5 separate regions of the Homo sapiens genome follow, and regions 1, 3, 4 and 5 are each linked to region 2. The links are contacts of gene promoters, found by promoter capture Hi-C in blood cells and fetal thymus (Javierre and others, 2016). All regions are on one chromosome and are shown on one strand. The core of a region is centred on a gene start or on the middle of the fragment in contact, and the rest is flanking DNA. Distances in the headings are between cores, read along the strand shown. Region 1 has its middle 13 kb from the start of FJX1. Region 2 holds the start of TRAF6 (TNF receptor associated factor 6). Region 3 overlaps TRIM44 (tripartite motif containing 44). Region 4 has its middle 14 kb from the start of TRIM44. Region 5 overlaps TRIM44 (tripartite motif containing 44).

Region 1 (2,921 bases), core at 422-2,921, 880 kb after region 2:
GCAGATTAAGTTCTTAAGTCTTTCCCCAGAGAATGCCACATGTGAAGTGCATGCCCATGAACTCAGTAAACTCTGGGATTATTCAAGCTAAAGGCAGGCAGTTCTTCCTTTGAGGTCATTGTTTTCTGCAGTCTGATAGGCTTTGGGTTGTTGTTGTTTGTTTGTTTTCACAGATCTATGCTGCCCTCACATTCTGTGAAACACTATGGACATGAGGGTTAGTTTCCATGATCATCTCCTTTGCAGAAATGGACCACAAAACGTTTCCCACTATGGGGACTAAGAAGGTAGAGTGATCATTTGTTGTGGTTAGGGTCACTCAGCATCTATTTCTTCAAGAACATCTGGTTTTCTTTGGAAAAGTACCCAGTTGTGGTTAATGTCGTTGAGTCCTATATCTAGTTCTCCCATACATGGTTCTCTCATACATATTCATCATGCCAAAGAGTGGGCATGTGATCTAAACTCAGGACTTCCAAAGTGCCAGGATTACAGGTGTGAGCCACCATGCCCAGCCGGAAACTGCCTTTGATAGAATGGATCATGGGAGGAGAGTCATTACATAATCTTCTCATGAACTATATAGCACAGACAACGTTGGTGCCTTTAAGTAGGATTATTAAGCACAGAATGTTTTTACTACATGTATTAGTCCATTCTCACGCTGCTATAAAGAACTACCTGAGACTGGGCAATTTATAAAGAAAAGAGGTTTAACTGGCTCACAGTTCCACAGGCTGTACAGGAAGCATGGCTGAGAGGTCTTGGGAAACTAACAATCATGGCAGGAGGCGAAGGGGAAGCGGCACATCTTACCATGGCAAAACAGGAGAGAGCGAAGGGTGAAGTGCTGCACACTTTTAAACAACCAGATCCTGTGAGAACTCTGTCACTAGAGAGTACTGGGGGGACGGTGCTAAATCATTAGAAACCACCCCCATGACCCAATAATCTCCCCCCAGGCCACCTCCAACACTGGGGATCACAACTCAACATGAACTTTGGGTGGGGACAAAGAGCCAAACCATATCACCACATAACAACCTTTGAACTGGGTGGAAATGAGTAGAAAAGAAGCCACTTAATCTGTGTTTCCACTTCTTTCTTGTGTCGTAGTGGTCAATGCCTAATAATTACTGAGTCTTTACTATGTGTCGGGCATTGTTGTAAGTACTTTGCATGTGTTATTCATAAATAGGTAGGTCTTATTATTATTATTATTCCTATATTCAGATGAGGAAACTCAGGGTCAGAGAGCATAAGTAACCTGCCTAAGGTCTCAGAGCCAGAAAATGGAGGAGCCAGGGTTTGAACCTAGAGAGTCCCCCTCTGTAATTCAGCCCTTACCACTATGAGATAGGGCCTCCCTCAGGGGTGAGGATTATGATATATCCATCTCCTGCCCTCTGTGCCTGGCACTTAATAGGTGCCTGCTTACCTCTGCAGCCTCGAACTATGCAATCCCCTTCTAGGGCAGTACTCTTCAATCATACCAGCCTTTCATTTCTGTACAGCAAGCTCCTTCTCTCAAGCTCTCAAATGCAATTCCTTCCAATTGAAATGCTCTCCACTCCTTCTTTTCTCCTCTATGCTGGCTGACTTCTGCTCATTGCTCTGGTCTCTGCTTAAATGCCAGATCCTTCAACCTCCAATGTGAGGTTGTCCCCTATTAACACTCTCATAGGGCCATGTATTTTCCTGTCATCCCATTTATTACAGTAATAATTTGCTTAATGTCTGTCTCCTCTACCAGACTCTACACTACAGAAGATCAGAAACCATATCACTCCAGTTAACTGACCTGTTCCTACCACCTAACACAGTGTCTGACCCAAAGTTAGCAGCCAGGAAACATGAATGCAATGAGCAGATGCTCAGTGTCTGTTTGCCAAGTAAATTGAGGCTTTAAAACAGGAGAACTAAAGATAGGGCTTAGGATGATACCTCTGTTGTTCCATGGATTTGAACCTTTACATCTTATACCCAGGAAATACTATTCAAATTACATAAGGTGAAGTCAGAACTTACTGTTGGCCTTAGTGCCGGGTTACTGGTTCAAGAACTCTCTGCTACTCCAGGTGTTAACCTGTTAGTTGCAGGATCATGGGATGGTAGTGGGGATTGTTCAGAAACATGGAAGAGTCACTCTGGGGCCGCAGAGTAGACATTTATCAACTGAGCTGGAAGTATTTCGATAGTCTAATAACCAACGTAACTATACTCATACATGCAGCACATACCTGGGCCATGAGTAATCACTTGAAAACAGCCCACGAGGGATTTCGCATGGAGCACCAACTTCTGAATTGCTAAGTCCAGAGTCATTACAATAATTTTTATGGCATGAGTCATGCATCCAGCATCATAGTATCAGAAAAGACAGACACTTATGTGGAGTTGGGTCACGAATGTTATATTGCAGAGAGACTTTGGATGGGTCCCAATTATAAACAGGTGGAGGAGAAGGGAGCCACACAGCAATGTTTTCTGGGCATCTTTTATTAGCTCAATGCCTTGAGAAGTCAAAGATGCTTAACCTGTTTTTTCATTAGCATTTTTGATTTCGCTAATAGGTCACTAGAGATAGGCTCACTAAATAATGAAATTGAATGTGCTGCCTCTGGAAGGGCAAGGTTGAGATTCATGTGTGATGGCAAAGCCTTTCTTTTTTGAAAGGTTGGCAGAATGTGCTCTTCAGCGTCAAGGGGCCAAAGATCAAGTGGTGATGGCTGGACTTCGCATAGTTGGGAGCTGTAGCACAGGCAGGATGCTGACTGCAAATGAAAAGTAATTTTCCCTGGAGTAACTTGACCTTTCTTTAATCCTAAATGTAACCTGCAGAGGCACTAGCTCTTTCCCCTGCAATGTGGCATCATTTTGCTGGCTCTGATGCTGATTGAAGGTCAACGTGAGGGCTATCT
Region 2 (2,700 bases), core at 101-2,600:
AAAAGGGGGTTGACAGAACCTGAGAACCAGTGATAAATTCTTCTTAAAAAGAGAAGCATTTTTAATGAATATTGGCAGCCAGAAAGTAGGACATATAGTATTGGTAACATTTATTGAGCCCATACTATGTCCTAGTTTTGGGTTTATTTGTTTGTTCGTTTGTTCCTTGAGACAGGGTCTCACTCTGTCACCCAGGCTGGAATGCAGTGGTGCAATCATGGCTTACTGTAGCCTTGACTGCCAGGGCTCAAGCCATCCTCCCACCTCAGCCTCCAGAGTAGCCGAGACTACAGATATGCACCACCACACCCAGGTAATTTTTAAATTTTGTGTAAAGATGGGGTCTCACTATGTTGCCCAGGCTGGTCTCAAATTCCTGGCCTCAAGTGATCCTCCTGCCTTAGCCTCCCAAAGTACTGGGATTATAGGCATGAGCCTATTTGTGCCTGGCCAGATAGTTTTAAATAATTTCTTTACATATTTTATCTCATCCTTCCAACAACCCTGTGAGGTAGATACTATTATTATCCCCATGTTAATACGAGATGAGAAAACTGAAACAAGTACAGATTAAGTATTTTACCTGAATCACACATTTATTGTAGGAAAAACCGGATTGGAACCAAGCATTCTGGCTTCAGGATACATACGCATGACTACTATCCTGGAAAACCTCCCCTAAGAGGTGGACGATGAACCAAATATGCAGAGGTGGATGAAACTCTTTTGTGCTTCTCCAGCAAAACGCGTGGTACATTCTCTAGACGTTTATGACCAGTTAAACAGGGAATTTAAAATAGTTTTCCCATGACAGAGAAAGACAAAGCGCTGGTGTTCTTGGCAGGAAATTCAAAGAAATATTTAAGGCAAGGGCTGACTCCCTTGGACCGGATGAAGGGGAAGAGCAGGTAATAATAGAGGGTTCTATGGATCGCAGAAACTTCCTGGGCAAGGAGGGTGGAGCTGGGGAGGGGTTTAAGAATTCCTGAAGGTCAAGCGATCTAGCCCAGCTGGGGTTTTCTCCTGCTTGGAGAGGGGTGCTATAAAAGCGCAGTTTGGGATTACTACTGTCGCCACTGCTCACCAAATTAAGTTATTCCGGGAGGGATCTTCTCGTCGCCATCCTCATTCCAACACACACCCATTGACACACTCGGGTTCGGCTGTGCGGTGCAACGAATTCCCAGGTGGGACACCCGAGCAGGAAGAAAGCCAGGCTGCGGGGCTGGGGGCGCCGCCCGGCCCGCGCCACAGTCCGCCTGGAGGATCACCGCCAGGGGGCACTCTCTCCGAACTCGGCCGCTCTGTCTCCTCCCCGGCGCGCTCCCTGCCCCTCGCTCCCCGCAGCCAGCAGAGAAGGCGGAAGCAGTGGCGTCCGCAGCTGGGGCTTGGCCTGCGGGCGGCCAGCGAAGGTGGCGAAGGCTCCCACTGGATCCAGAGTTTGCCGTCCAAGCAGCCTCGTCTCGGCGCGCAGTGTCTGTGTCCGTCCTCTACCAGCGCCTTGGCTGAGCGGAGTCGTGCGGTTGGTGGGGGAGCCCTGCCCTCCTGGTTCGGCCTCCCCGCGCACTAGAACGGTGAGTCTCCTTCAGGCGCCTCCTCCTGGCGGCCGCCGCCTCGCTTCCCAGCGGTCAGGGACGCCGCCCCCCGCCCCTTCGCTCTCGGCAGGTCGGGGACGCAGTCCCTGTCCCCTCGCTTCCCACCAGTCGGGGACGCCTCCCCTGTCCCTTCGCTTTTCACAGGTCAGGGACGCCGCCCCTACCCGCTTGCTTCCCACGGGTCGGGGACGCCGCCCCTGTCCTCTCGCTTCCCGCTGGTCGAGGACACCGTTCCCTGCCCCTCGCTTCCTGCAGGTCGGGACGCAGCCTCTGTCCCCACGCTTCCCACAGGTCGGGGACACCGTTCCCTGTCCCCTGACCTCTGCTCCCCAGGCCTCCTCTTCCTCGCTCATTCCACCCCCTAAAAAACCCCGCGTCGCCTTACTCAACCTCGCTCCCCTCAACTCCGCTTTTTCCCCTTCCCAGATAAGGAAATTGCCTCCTGCAGTTGTCCGCTCCTTGGAGCAAACACCTGCTTAAATTTTTAAAAAATCCTTTACGTTCCTGGCGACTCCGGCTGTCACTGTCATGGGAAAGCTATTTTTGGATTCCCTGTTGAACTCTATAGAAGTCTCAGGCAGCGAGTTTAAAAAAAAAAAAAGGCTCAGATGACACGAATGTTTTCTCCCCCGCCCCTAAACTCGGTAGTTCGAGCGATTGTTCCAGACGCCGGGTTGATAAAGCTGTTCCTAGTATTTGGCTTAAGGGGAACTCCAGCTGAGTTAGGACTGTCTTGAATGTGAACAGAAAGCACCTAAATAAAGTATTAGCAGCTTCGCTGTATGGTATTTAATTGTTTCTTTCTCTGAGAGCAGATTACTATTACTGAATGTCTTGTTACACAGGTTCCATGTAGAAACGAGAAAAACTGGTAAAGAAATTCTGTGTTGGCCTTGTGAACTTGGCCGCTATCATTTCATTCATTCTCCTTTGATTACTAGGGAAGGGAGAGGGGCTTTTCAAATTTTGAGGTTGAGTGTATAGGCAGGAACAATGTGGCCTCTTTTGTGACTCTAGGAAGGAGTCCGGCATGTGGTGGGTACAGGATCACATCAGAGTTTCAGCCTGCATGCACCACAATATTTCAGAATTGTAACATGAGCTC
Region 3 (2,888 bases), core at 183-2,682, 820 kb after region 2:
TTGTTTCATAAGCCTAGATTTTTATCTACCTTTTTTCCAAAGTTGAAATCACCTGGACTTATTTCTAGGGGCTCTTCTACTTGTTCAAAGAAGTGAAAAAAAATCATTAGCAAACATAGAGGAAAACAGCTAAGGTACAGCACAGAGGTTCTCAAAGTGTGGTACTTGAAACAGCAACATCAGCATCACCTGATAATTTCATAGAAATGAACATTGTCTAGCCACCCCAGGCCAATTGAATAAAAAACTCTGGAGGTGGGCACAGCACTCTATATTTTAATACGTCTTCTGGGTGATTTTCATGTACACTGAAGTTTAAGAACCTCTGGGTCTGGAAGAAAAGAAGATGTCTGACAAATGTTTTGAATAAAATGAGGCATCTCATTAAACAGAATCAAGTCTATATTTTTGACACAGAAGAATATCTAAGATATTCCACATAAAGGAAAAAGCAATTGTAAAACCATGGGTATAATTTTGTAAAAGAATTTTGAAAAGGTACTACATAGAAAAATGTCTAGAAGGTTACATACTAAACTGTTAACAGTGGCTAACTTAGGGGAGATTTTACTTTTTCTTTATGAATATCTGTATTTTTAAATCTATAAGTATGTATTATTTTATAATTTTAAAAAAATGATTAATTTAGACATCTTCTACTGCTCTCTAGCAAAACTCAAGAGGTAAAAATTAACTCATTCCCCAATAGGCTTCAGTGTCTGGACTAATCAAGCTTTGTGATGCTTTAGGGAATTCTAGAGGAAGTGAGGCAGAGATAGTGCTCAGTCCTCCATGACTCAATCAGTGCTTCTATGTAAAGCCTCTGTGCCCAGGAAATGACAGGTCACAAAGCCTAAGAGATTTCTGCCCTTCTTAAATAGGCCAACTCAAAAAGGGGATGGTGGGGCTCTGTGGGAAAACAGAACAGACAAAAACTTAAGGGTTGTCTTGGAAGATGCCAATTTATTTCTAGGAAAATCTTCTTTGTGCAGAAATTATATATTTAAGTGGCCTGTTTTTTACCCCCATTCCTGACCTGGCAGTCATTCTGCAATTACGTTCACCCTTCTTCAAGCTGGCTCCAAGTATATACAGCATATGGTTGTGGTAGACTAAAAAGGGGCTTGAAAATAAAATAGGTTGGTAGTAAATGATCCAGGGCAAAATAAAAAGAACGTAAAAAAGAGGTGCAGGTATACACACACACCCAAGATCAAGTCGGGTCCTTACAAATATCCTTTACCTTATGATGCATCAAGAGAAAACCCTGACACTTCCAGGGATTCCTCTCATGCAACCGCTCAAACCTTTCACTTTCTGGCAAGCTTTCCATCAGAAGCACTACATGCATTCATAAAGGATCCCAAAGCACTTTACCTGTATTATAGTCATACACAGAGAACACTCAGTGTGATTTGTACACATCCGCTCCCTCTTCACTGCACTGCTAATTATAAGTTTGGCGGAATCAGAATATGGTTGTCTCCTGCAGAACAGGAGTTGCTCCAGAAACCAGAGAAACTTGGTAAGAAAAGCTTTCAGTAACTTTTAATAAGTGGTTCATCCTAGCTAAAGGAAAAACTTTTATCAGGGGTCCTCCTACTTTGAGCTAGGAAAGTTGATAAAGGTTACTCTAATTTTTTCTATCTACCAACCTAACTCTCTACTTCTGGAACCCTGACTACACCAGAAGACAAGAGATCTTACCAATGTCCCCGATATTTTCATTGCCATATGAAGAGAAATTTATTCTTGTGGCTGCAGCCACCTTTTGAAGAGCCCACCAGTCTATGGCTCTGCCACATATTGTGTTTCAATTTAGAAAACTGCAGCACAATGTGATCATGTGGCAGAAAGGAGATAAAATCCAGTGCTTGGTTTGCATGACATAAGATAAAGAGTATAGGCACTGGAGTCAGAGTTTGAATTCCACATCTATATTACATTAGATTTGGGCAGATGATTCTACCTTTCTAAACCTCAGTGTTCTTATCAATAAAGTAGGAAGAAAATGCTACTTTACAGTGTTGTTAAATAATTAAAAGTATTTAAGGGGAGAGCAGGAATGAGAAGTTAGCATTTAATGGGTACCGAATTTCAGTTTGGGATAGTAAAAAAGCTCTAGAGATGGACAGTGATGATGGCTGCACAACAAAGTGTGGCCAGGTGTGGTGGCTCACGCCCATAATCCCAGCACTTTGGGAGACTGAGGCGGGCAGATCACTTGAGGTCAGGAGTTCGAAACCAGCCTGGCCAACATGGTGAAACTCTGTCGCTAGTAAAAACACAAAAAGTTAGCTGGGTGTGGTGGCATGTGCCTGTAGTCTCAGCCACTCAGGCGGCTGAGGCAGGAGAATCACTTGAACCTGGGAGGGAGAGGTTGCACTGAGCCGAGATCATGCCACTGCACTCCAACCTGGGCATCAGAGCGAGATTCCGTCTCAAAAAAACAAAAAACAAAAACAAACAAACAAACAAAAAACCAAAGTGAATGTACTTAATGCCATTGAACTGTACACTCAAAAATGGTTAAAATTTTGTATGTATATTTTAGTACAATCATGTAAGAGTCCTAGCAAAGTGCCTGACTCTCAGTAGATACTCAAGAAATGCTAGTCCCATTCCTCTTAAAAAAAAAAAAAACAAAAACAAAAACAAAAAGAACCTACAGTAAAATAAAATCATGCGCCTTTCCCTATTTAATTGTGAGAAACTTTGATTCTAAGGCAAAGCCAGCTGGCCCCAATACCAGGTAGTGCCACAGTAAGTGTCTGGGTAGGAAGGAGAAGGAAGTCTGTTCAGTTCCGTTTACCTCCACCCCGTTATGGTGTCTCCCAGAATATCAATCCTCTAGACCCTAACATATTGAAATAAAAAAAAAAAGCCGG
Region 4 (2,700 bases), core at 76-2,575, 860 kb after region 2:
ATGGTGCAAGCTCACTATAACCTCAAAATTCTGGACTCAAGTGATCTCCCTGCCTCAGCCTCCCTGAGTAGCTAGGACTATAGGCATGTGCCACCACACCTGGCTAACTTTAAAATTATTATTATTATTTTGTAGAGACAGGGTCTCACTATGTTGCTGGGGCTGGTCTTGAACTCCTGGCCTCAAGCCATCCTCCCACCCTGACCTCCCAAAGCACTGGGATTATAGGTGTGAGCCACTGTGCCCGGCCATTATGCCAGGTTTAATGATCAAGCAGTGGGTTGAGAATGCAGAAATCTAAGTTCTTGCCATGCCTCTGCCACTAATGAGCTATGTGGCTCTGAGCAAGTCCTTTAACTTCACTGGCTCTTCAGTCTCTGTGAAATGAGTGAGCTAAAGTAGATGATTCCTGTTTTGGTTGTCTATTGCTATGCCACACACCACTCCAAAATGTAGGTGCTGAAAACAATAATGATTCATTATTTCTCAGGATGGTATGGATTGTCTGGGCTCAGCTGGCTAGTTCTTCTGCTTTATATGGTATTGGCTGGGATCACTCACGCAGCTGCTTTCAGAGGGGTGCTCAGCTGGAGCTGCAACATCCAAGATGGTGTTGCCCACTTGTTTAGCAGCTATGTTTGTCAACCTCAATTCTACCCTAGGGAGAGGAACTCTTATCCTCTAGGGCTAGAATAATCCAAACATGTTTACGCTGTCTTCATCCTGAAATCCATATAGACCCTAAGGCACATTTGAGACCTGACAAGATTCAGAGTTGAACTGAAAGGAATCACTGCGTCATGCAAGAAAGCAAAACTTGATCTGCAGTTCTTTCTCTACACAGTCCCTCCTGCTGGATAACCTGAACTTCCTTACATGGTTCCAAGAGGATGAAAATGGAAGCTTGAAAGCTTCTTAAGGCCTAGTCCAGATGTCATTCAATATTACTTTCATTGTAGAATATTTATCAAAGCAAGTCAGTGGTCAACTAAGATTCAAGAAGAGGGAGAAAGGGCTCTACCTCCTGAAGACTTTCAGAGTTACATTATAAAAGGGCATGCAGGATGGGAAGGATGGTTCTGACCATTTTTCAAAGCAATTACCATAATCTGTGTGGTCCGTGTTGGTTCTGCCAGTCCATATTTAAACCTAAAGCTCTGAGACAATTCCCGTTCTTCTCAATTTGGTTTTTGAACTCTGTGAATTCCCCACTGAGTGCCTAGTATGTTCCAGGTCTTGAACTGTCTTTGCTCTCCGTTTAGTTCTAATAGACATTCATTGTTTTTTCTACCTGGTGTCCCCTCAGCCTCCTTCTGGTAACCAACTCCCCAGTTTGCCTCAGGGAGCTGAGGCACACATAGCTGGTTAAAACCCAGCTTCCCTACTAACAGAACTCTCATCTCTCCAGATATTTAGATATTAACATCCTCAGCCCTGGAGCATGAACCATCATAGAGCTAAGCCAATCATGAGAATCCCAACCTCTTTTGCCAGTAATAGGTTTTGAGGTGTATATGTGACCAAGCCTTGGCTAATGAGGCATTAAGGCAAGTCTCATCGGGGCACTTCTGGAAAAGATTTCCTTTTCTAAACAGAAGAAAGAGACTTGCAAGAGGAAAGCCCTGTCCCTTCCTTCCTGCTTTAGGATCTTGTGAGGAACAAGCTATGGAAGCCATCTTATAATCATGAGAGTAAGAGACCATAGAGAAACACCTAGACCCCCGACATTATTAAGCTTTGGATTTATCCAACTGCTATGTCACCCAGTGCTATGATTTGGATATGGTTTGTTTGGCCCTGCCACGTCTCATGTTGAAATTTGAAATTTGATCCCCAGTGTTGGAGGCGGGGCTTGGTGGAAGGTGTTTGGATTATGGGGGTGGATCCTTCATGGAGGGCTTGGTGCCATTCTCAAGGGAGTTAATTAATTCCCATTTTGTCTCCCCCTACCTCCTGCCCTGCCCCTCTGAGAACCGATTGTGGAAAGGAGGCTGTCACCTCCTCCTCCTTCTCCTTCTCCTTTTCCTTCTCCTCTTTCTCCTTCTCTTTCTCTTTCTCCTTCTCCTTCTTTCTCTCTCTCTCCCTCTCTCTCTCTCCCCCTCCCTCTTCCTGCTCTCGCTCTGTGACAGGCTCCCCTTCATCTTCCACCATAAGGGGAAGCAGCTTGAGGCTCTCACCAGATGCAGATGCTGGCACCATGCTTCTTGTACAGCCTGTGAACCATGAGCCAAATAAATATTTTCTCTTTATAAATGATCCAGTCTCAGTTATTTCTTTATAACAACACAGACGAATTAAGACACCAACCCAGATCGCTTACCTGTGGACTTCTTGTTATGTGAGATAATACAGCCGTATAAATAAGCAAGTCTGTTATCTGCTGTCAAAAGTATCCCTCTTCTACTCCTCTGAATCTGTATGGTTCTAGAGACACTGACTCCATGAGTAATTCTAGGAAGGAACTTACAACCCAGAACTAAGCAATTAGCATCTGTATTCACCTGACCACAGTGGTTATTTCAAAGATGGGCCAGGACTCTGGCAGAGCCAGAGAGGCAATGTGATTTTTCTTGGGACTTCTGAGAAAGAGGATATTTTTTCCTTTTTTTTTTTTTTCCTGCTGGACCTAGAAGGAAAGAGGAATAGTGGCTGGAGCTGCTGGATTTCCCTACATCTTGCTGACTTGAAGAATCCACTCCA
Region 5 (2,700 bases), core at 60-2,559, 800 kb after region 2:
CTATTTTTAAGTCTTGACTTAAAATAAGTTAGACTTGAATATACAAAGAAAGCCTATTTTATCTGAAGATTAAAGCAATTTTAAAATAAGACTCAATCTCCATTCCAGTTCTCTCAAGCAGTTTCCCTATAAAGCCACAGTTATTTGTATTTTATTAAAACACAACACCAAAACAACTGCATACTGCCACAAATACTCAGGAAAGGGCACTGAGACGTAGCTCTCATGTTTGCTGAGTCTTCTTTCCTACATAGGGTCACAACGGTACAGCATATGGACTTTGATAGAGTAGAGAAAGGGGTTTGAGGACTGGTTCTGCTAACTCCATGCTTCTGAAGCTCAGAAAGGTGAAAATTTCTCCATAAAAAGTTTCTTTGTAAAATGAGGGTAATAATAACATTCTCATAGATATTTTTCTAAACTTAACACAAAATAATACATGGAAAGCACTTAGGGCTCTCCGGGCACACAGAACCATCAGCAGAACCATTCTGCTCATTAGAGATAATAGTAACTGTGAACTTTTATTGTGTGCCTCCCATATGGTATCTACTGAGCTCTCACAGAAGAAGAGTCCCCAATAAGCTTTCCTAAAGAAAAGAGGGAGCCTATGCCCTTGGGAGTTTAGATCTAATTTCCCAAGGGAACATCTAAAAGACTTTCCTACTCATCCTAGGCATTGAAAAGTAAAGATATCAATACTGAGGCTCCTTGCCTCAGTTTCAAATAAATGGCCACAAGGTGTCAAGGAGCAATGGCTGCCTTTTCTGATTTGATCAGATCTGACTGCCCAACATCTCAGGGTCAGTCTACTTCAATGATACAGAAGCAAAGTACAGAAAGCACAGGAAGGATGGGTCACATTCTGTTCCTCTGTACCTACACAAAGTCAGTCTATGGGCGTAGTTGGCTCCTCAATCTCACAACTTGCCTCTCATGGTATTTTCTCTTCTTTGTAGACTGAAACCCTACTCTACTCCCTTAAGGAGCTAACAACCTGCTTACCCAAGAACCACAGTGCTCTTAAACTAACTACAGTTGCTAACATACATTTAAGTCCCCAAAATCATCTTCCACTGTTTCTTATCTCCTCACAAGTTTTCATTTTCAGGATCTTCATTAATAAAAATATAGTATGATTAGTCCTCCTTTATAGATAAAACTGAAATATATGGACTCATGTCATCTGACTCCAATATTTGTGCTCTTTCACCAAAAAAAAAAAAAAAGCATGTCATATTCAATGTAAACTTTTACCCTTAAGTCTGAACAAATACTACATTGGAATACCATTCTCAATACATCTTCTATAGGCAAAAGTTAATAACTTCTATATAGAAGTCATAGAAAGGCAACTTACTAGCATCTTTAGCCTCGTGAACAAGTCACTTAACCTCTTAAATCTTTGTTTCTTCATTTATAAAAGGGGATCATAATGTCTAAATAAATGGGCTGAGTTAGGAAGTAGGGAGACATGGTAGAATCTATTTTGCCTGCTGCAGAGGTAAACAAAAGTCATTAAACAAGGGGATGAACATCAGCTGAATCACTGGGTTGAATGAAATGTCTCTTCGTAGGTGTAAAGACCTGATAAATTCTGCCCTTTGGCTAAATGCAGTCAATCAGGAGAGAGGCACTGTTCTCAAATTTTATATTTATATATATGTATAAGCATCTACATATAGATCTGAGGTAGACCGAGAGTTGCATTCTGCAGGTTTGGTCTAAGAATATCAAAGAAAACACCTTTTTCCCTGAGCAAATCTGATTTTATTTCTTTAACTGAATGAGAGCTTGAACTAACAGGGAAAGAGGAAGGAGGGGGACAGGAGAGCAGCAGGCCCTTAAATAAAAGTCTGGGTGATTTTATCACTATTATCACAATAAAGTTTTATATCTAGGTACCCCGGCTCCTAAATTAACTGTCAAATACAATCCTGCACTGGAAACCTGAAGCGTGGCTGCTATGGGGGAGTCCTGACAGCTTCACTCCTCTCTCCAGGTTCGCTGTGTAATCAGCCCTTCAAGCTTTTGGCAAAGAGTATACTATCAAGTCTCCTGTCAGTGCAGAGAGGAGCTGGAGCAGGAGGAAGAAGACATCACAAAGTGTTAATTTTATTAAGCCATTTAAAGCTCAATCCCTCTGCTTTGTAACAATGCTCCAGTCCACCAGGCAGCTTGGAAACCATGCCCACCTTAGTTTTTAAATGACTATAATCTATTGGTGCTGTGGTTCAATTAGGAGGTCTGGGGCTCCAGTAAGAAAGAGAAGGATAAGGTAAAGCTGCAGGGGAAGGGAGAAGAGGAGGTAGGGAGTGAAGAATCTCAGTAGCGTTTACTTTAAAGTGGGAATATATTTCCTAATGTGTTTCTTAAATAACTTTAAGTAAAGTTATTCCTAAAATAACTTCTTTATTTTTCTTATAGTTGGGCACCAAGCAGTTCTGCTAACTAGGGAGTCTGCTTCATAACAATAAACATACTTGCTTCAATGCATTGATTTCTTCTTTCTATTGGGAATATATGGACACACAACTACACACTCCCAAGGCAGATACATTTGCTTTGACTTGAACAGGCAACAGACCTATGCTGAACTACTGCCAGTTACTCTGCAGCCAGGCAAGTTCACTCACAGAGTGAGTGAGCCAACAAACCACACACCAAGGGATCCCAAAAGTGGAGACTGAACTCAATTTA

The links. Contacts are between HindIII fragments. The CHiCAGO score rates a contact against its expected background, and 5 or more counts as called.
Region 1: a contact is called between a fragment that was not itself captured here and the fragment with the promoter of TRAF6 in region 2, in 3 of 17 cell types (total B cells, non-activated CD4 T cells and naive CD8 T cells). The highest score is 7.2, in total B cells.
Region 3: a contact is called between a fragment that was not itself captured here and the fragment with the promoter of TRAF6 in region 2, in 4 of 17 cell types (total CD4 T cells, total CD8 T cells, naive CD8 T cells and 1 more). The highest score is 8.2, in total CD4 T cells.
Region 4: a contact is called between a fragment that was not itself captured here and the fragment with the promoter of TRAF6 in region 2, in 8 of 17 cell types (non-activated CD4 T cells, activated CD4 T cells, total CD4 T cells and 5 more). The highest score is 9.8, in non-activated CD4 T cells.
Region 5: a fragment that was not itself captured here is called in contact with the fragment with the promoter of TRAF6 in region 2 in 2 of 17 cell types (naive B cells and total B cells); the score reaches 6.2 in naive B cells.

Annotation. Positions count from the first base shown.
Region 1 is chr11:35,629,528-35,632,448 of GRCh38, reverse strand. No RefSeq gene overlaps it. Among named protein-coding and RNA genes, the nearest start is that of FJX1, 13 kb to the right of the region's middle. RefSeq lists an enhancer at 1,846-2,921. The HindIII fragment of the contact is 4,468 bases long and covers 1-2,921 here.
Region 2 is chr11:36,508,922-36,511,621 of GRCh38, reverse strand. TRAF6 (TNF receptor associated factor 6) reads left to right here and starts at 1,350. Exons shown (of 7, transcript NM_004620.4): 1 at 1,350-1,574. It also overlaps a transcript of RAG1 not described here. RefSeq lists an enhancer at 1,482-1,531. The HindIII fragment of the contact is 10,105 bases long and covers 1-2,700 here.
Region 3 is chr11:35,686,130-35,689,017 of GRCh38, reverse strand. The region is part of intron 2 of TRIM44 (tripartite motif containing 44); the gene reads right to left. Among named protein-coding and RNA genes, the nearest start is that of TRIM44, 25 kb to the right of the region's middle. The HindIII fragment of the contact is 210 bases long and covers 1,328-1,537 here.
Region 4 is chr11:35,647,087-35,649,786 of GRCh38, reverse strand. No RefSeq gene overlaps it. Among named protein-coding and RNA genes, the nearest start is that of TRIM44, 14 kb to the left of the region's middle. The HindIII fragment of the contact is 824 bases long and covers 914-1,737 here.
Region 5 is chr11:35,712,032-35,714,731 of GRCh38, reverse strand. All of the region lies in intron 2 of TRIM44 (tripartite motif containing 44), which reads right to left. Among named protein-coding and RNA genes, the nearest start is that of TRIM44, 51 kb to the right of the region's middle. The HindIII fragment of the contact is 1,443 bases long and covers 588-2,030 here.